Regions from separate parts of the Homo sapiens genome. Here region 1 is linked to region 2. Evidence: promoter capture Hi-C in 16 types of primary human blood cells and fetal thymus (Javierre and others, 2016). All regions are on one chromosome and are shown on one strand. Each heading gives the region's core, a stretch centred on a gene start or on the middle of the fragment in contact. The rest is flanking DNA. Distances are from core to core; before and after follow the strand shown.

Region 1 (2,700 bases), core at 132-2,631, 73 kb before region 2:
GATCTCTTGACACATTTAAATGTGTCTATTTTTGATATTCTAAGTCAATTTTAAAATCTGAATTATGAAACTTTAGTTATATATATTAAGTAATGCAGTTAAATTTTGTTTTATTTCATGATCTATGTTGGTATGGCCTAAATTTTATTCAAGTTAATAATGTAAAGTGTTTAAATTTTAGAGCTTATTTTAAACCATTTTCATAAATATTTTTATCTACAAATCGTCTAAGAAAAAAAACAAAGTGAAAAATACAGCATACTGGTAAATTGGTTTTTAAAAGCCAAGAGTACATCAAATTGTTTCAGAGTAGAAACAGCTGCAAGCAAAGTTACTTTGTATCTTCTTTTGATCATCATCTTTCCGATGGGTGACTCTTCTTCCTAGGTACCAGTGATTTCAAGACTAGTTTCCCTGGCTCTCTCACTCTCAACTGTTTTTCTACCCAGGTTTTCCCTAAGGAATCAACTCTGGCCCTGAACCTTGACACCCTTCCTAACCTTGACGCCTACTGTGATAGACTTGTTACAACAGTCTTACTAGAAAACTGACTGGCTAGTCAGTAGTTAAAAATTGGGGCTGGACACCATGGCTCATGCCTGTAAATCCCAGTGCTTTGGGAGGTGAAGGATCACTTGAGGCCAGGAGTTTGAGTCCAGCCTGGGCAACATAATGAGATCTGCCTCTTTAAGAAAAAAAAGAATTGGTTCATGGTATTAATGATGATGTGTTCATATTGTCCCAACCTTAAAAAGTATTTTCTACTTTAACAGGACTCTAAGTATTCAACTCAAAAAAGAAACTAACAGTTGGGACTTGAGACATTGAGTCATTCAAGTAGGTGGAATATTCTGGGGAAACAGAGACTTGGGGTATAACTGAAAATCTTCCAGATAACTGATTATCTAGCCAACGGAAAGAGATGACTCTACCTTGTGTTGTGAAGTTAGTAACATTTACAAAAAATTAAATCATCAAAATTACCATAACACTACCCCTTGCCTTAAAATATGTTTTATATATACCCTCCCTGAATACTCTCCTTCTATCATACCAGGTAAGGGCCTGAAAGTGGACTATTTCTGCAGATAGGCCTTCTGTAGGTGCCACCAGCTCCTTACCCTCACCCACCAAAGAACTCCTGATCCCCACCATCGATACTCCTCCCCCTAGCCTTCAGGCTGCAAAATAAGCTGCCAGAGCCAGTGTTTACTAACGGGCCACTAAGTTGGGGAAGGAGACACTGACCTCTCTTAGCCTGAGGAAAAACTGTAAAAAAAAAAATGATATATTAATGATGTACGTACTTTCTGACGAAATAAGGAGTAACATAAAAGATACCAAGGGTAATCAAAAGGTTAATTTTCAATAGTTCCACAACCCAAAGAATACTGTATCTTAACCTACCATGTGAAAAATACTGCTATGGACCGAACTGTGTTCTCCCCAAAATTCATATGTTGAATTCCTAGTCACCAGTGTGACTGTATTGAGATAGGGCCTATAAGGAGGTCATCAAGGTTGAAGGAAGTCAAAAAGGTTGGGCCCTGATCTGGTATGATTAGTGTTCCTACAAGAAGAGACACCCAGAGAGTGAGCATGCATGCTCTCCGCCATGCAAGAACCGTGAGAAGTCGGCCATCTGCAAGCCAAGGAGGACTTCCAAGCCTTCAGAACTGTGAGAAACTTCTGTTGTTTAAGCCACCAGTCTGTGATATTTTGTTATAGCAGCCTGAGCAGACTAAGACATCTTTGTTTTTTTTGTTTTTGTTTTTTCAAAAAACTGAGAAAATTGAGTAAATACCAAGCCCAGTGCAATGCTATGGTATGTACAGGTAACGGTGCTATAGAGTGACCAGGTGTGACTGCAACACGAGCCTCAGAATAGTTCCCATGTGTGCTTTCTAGACAAACACACCATGATTTCATTACTAATTTTTAAAAATCTACTAAATTATGTTATTACCAACTTGGCAAAGTCAGTAGCAATATTTTCTGTTGACTAAAATAAAGCGGAGTGGCTCAGTTCAAGAGCTGAGAGCAGAGCATGTCAAAATGAAAGAAGAGCAAACTGTAGACCCTCATTTTACTTAAAGATTTCAGAAAGTTTTCCTTTCTTTATGAATAACTCCAATTAGTTAAGAGATGACATAGAAAATGAGTGAAAAGTTGCTAGATTAATTATAGTAACTGCTTGCTTTGTAGTAACATCAGTTCCCTGGGAATCTAGGTTCTGATCCCAGCACTTACTCAGATATAGTCACATGCACCTTTCAAGGGCTTCACTCTGAAGTGTCTCAGCAAGACCAGATCACCCATAAATTTCTAGTTCTAAAATTCATAGAAATTGGAGAGGCATGGTGGCTTACACCTGTGAGGCCAAGGCAGGCGGCTCATTTGAGGTCAGGAGTTCGAGACCAGCCTGGCCAACATGGTGAAATCCCGTCTCTACTAAAAATACAGAAAACAAAAGTAGCTGGGCGTGGTGGCACATGCCTGTAATCTCAAATCTCAGCTTCTCAGGAGGCCGAGGCAGGAGAATTGCTTGAACTCGGGAGGTGGAGTTTGCAGTGAGCCGAGATCACACCGCCGCACTCCACCCTGGGTGACACAGTAAGACTCTGCCTCAAAAAAAAAAATAAAAATAAATTCCTATAAATTAACTTTTTAGGATGATTCTCAAACATTCCAGCAAATCCT
Region 2 (2,700 bases), core at 3-2,502:
TGGGATTTGTTTCAAAAGGATCCAGAATTGGGGGTGTAGTATTAGGTGAGTATAGCAACAGCACAAGATTAACCAGGTGTTGGTAATGGAATCTTGGATACTGGGCACACAGGAGCATATTATTCACTCTCCTTTTATAAATGTTCAAAATTTTCCGTAATAAAGTTTTTCTCATTCATTTAACAGATATCATTTTAATACTTTATACTTGAACTGATTTTTTTTCTTGCTCTAGTTCGTTTTTTGCTCTCAAAGTAAATCGTGTCCTAGAAAGTGATGAGAAATGCCATATGGTTAATCCGTGGTCCTTGTCCAGATTGCCTCCCAAAAACGAGGCTGCAATTTTATTGGTTATTGGCCCCTACCAACAACATGCAAATAATAAAATGTAATGAAACTTAAACTTGTATGTTACAGAGCCTTGCAGAACCTTAGTTATCAGGCTTTCTTGGATTCTGTTGACATTTAGATCCTCAGAGATTTACTTTTTGAATGTATACATACCCAGTTCTATGTAACAGATTAACTTGTAATACGTTCTCTTAAAGCACTTTTAAAGTAAGCCCAAAGTAAGTAGAATGGGCATCTGGTTTGAGAATTAAAAAACTCACTAGTGGGATTTCAACACCACCACATCTGGGTTCTTCTAGCCGTTTTTTGCCGCCCTTGCAAATTTTAAATGTGCTTATATTTTTGCATAGTGGGTCCAGACTTCTCATTTTGGCAAAAGGTTCTTTGTAATTGGCCCGCTGACTGCCTCTCTAGTCTGTTTTTGCTGATACTCAAGAAAATAAATGGTAACTTGGTGATTGAGGAAATAACACACACAAAAAACACCCCATACGTAGTATGGTAGTGCTGAAAAGGAAGCAAGTGGTTATTAAGCCCAAGACAGTGGCAGAGGTCTATCGAACAAGCGGAGTCGCCTAGGACCAGGCATAGTGGAAATGATCCCGGAGAGAACATCTTGAATGAAGCCAGGAAGTCAGCGGGCCAGAGGTTGTACAGGGGCTCTGCGGTTGGCGTGGCTGAGGTTGAGGCCACAAGTTACTGGGGAAGTTAATTGTTGACAGGAGCTTCGTACTCGGCTCACAGCCACGCACAGTGGGCTTCCTCCCAGTACCCGCCCTTGCCCCTGGGCCTAACCCTGCCCTGGAGGCGGACTCGCGGGAGAAGCGGGAGGCGGAACGCCCGAGGGCGCCCTCGGCTGGCGCGGAGCTGCGCAGGAGGCTGACGCGCTAGCGTGGCTCTAAGACGCGTCACCCACGCTGCGGGCAAGCCATGGCGGGAAGCGAGCCGCGCAGCGGAACAAACTCGCCGCCGCCGCCCTTCAGCGACTGGGGCCGCCTGGAGGCGGCCATCCTCAGCGGCTGGAAGACCTTCTGGCAGTCAGTGAGCAAGGAGAGGGTGGCGCGTACGACCTCACGGGAGGAGGTGGATGAGGCGGCCAGCACCCTGACGCGGCTGCCGGTGAGCGTCGGCCGCAGGCCGCGGAGGACAGTGGGGCCGGCCCGGGCCGGAGGGACCTCCCCTGGAGCCCCCCGGGGCCTGGGGAACTCTCGCGCCCCGGCCTGGGTCTGGCTCCGTCCATGCAGCCATTCCTGGCAGTGTAGTCACCGAGAAGCTACAGTTGATCAGAAGCGTCTTGGCGTGGACCCTGGTGCTCCGCAGGGGGCCCGAACATCTCAGGGAAGCACCTTCATGGGGCCCCTGGGGACCCTCCCGATCGCCCTCAGGTTTTCCACCCGCCAAAACAGGCACATGTGACTAGGACACCCTGAATGTCCGGTTACGGAAATGAGACAGTTCCCAACTTGCTGATTAGCTTGGGAAAGCATTCCAGCGTCCCTGTTCCCAGCGTCTTTGATTCCGGATCACTGTACCAAAACACTTGGAGGGCCAAGGTTTTTACCCTCTCAAGAGGACATTGTGCCTGTGGCTGTTATTGTGTATTTGAAGAAACAAAACGGCCCCTCAGTTGAAAATAAATGACTTAAGTTACAAGTGCCTCAAGTTACATCAAGGCCACGAGAATGACACACATAACTTATTGTTAAACTTTGGGGTAGATAGGTAAATGAAGAGAACAAAAATTATTGAAAATTATTACAATTCTTTGTCTCATTTGGACTATTGACACCTCTCTCCAATGTGTATATCAACGTGAAAGCTGCAGGTTTAGAATGCCTCCAAGTTTCTCCTTGCAGAGGTTTTTCATAACATTTTAATAGATTCTGTAGAGGAACTAAGATGACAAATTTACGGCCGGGCGCGGTGGCTCACGCCTGTAATCCCAGCACTTTGGGAGACCCAGGTGGGCGGATCACGAGGTCAGGAGATCAAGACCATCCTGGCTAACACGGTGAAACCCCGTCTCTACTAAAAATATAAAAAATTAGCCGGGCTTGGTGGCAGGCGCCTGTAGTCCCAGCTACTTGGGAGGCTGAGGCAGGAGCATGGCGTGAACCTGGGAGACGGAGCTTGCAGTGAGCCGAGATCTTGCCACTGCACTCCAGCCTGGGCGACAGAGCGAGACTGTGTCTCAAAAAAGAAAAAGACAAATGTACACTCTTTGATTTGGTCTGATGATAAAATCAGATAAAGGTTGATATGGGTTTTATTTTGAAGGACAAATTATTTCCTTAACTAATTTATGTAACTAACTGGTATATCCAAATATCTCTGAGGAAAAATTAAAGG

What was found. The method cuts DNA at HindIII sites, captures the fragments that hold promoters and counts their contacts. A CHiCAGO score of 5 or more calls a contact.
Region 1: a contact is called between a fragment that was not itself captured here and the fragment with the promoter of FBXO4 in region 2, in 2 of 17 cell types (naive CD4 T cells and activated CD4 T cells). The highest score is 6.3, in naive CD4 T cells.

The regions. Positions count from the first base shown.
Region 1 is chr5:41,850,443-41,853,142 of GRCh38, forward strand. All of the region lies in intron 4 of OXCT1 (3-oxoacid CoA-transferase 1), which reads right to left. Among named protein-coding and RNA genes, the nearest start is that of OXCT1-AS1, 18 kb to the right of the region's middle. The HindIII fragment of the contact is 5,487 bases long and covers 1-2,700 here.
Region 2 is chr5:41,924,029-41,926,728 of GRCh38, forward strand. It overlaps FBXO4 (F-box protein 4), which reads left to right and starts at 1,253. Exons shown (of 7, transcript NM_012176.3): 1 at 1,253-1,470. The coding sequence starts at 1,282. RefSeq lists a silencer at 1,511-1,690. The HindIII fragment of the contact is 6,278 bases long and covers 1-2,700 here.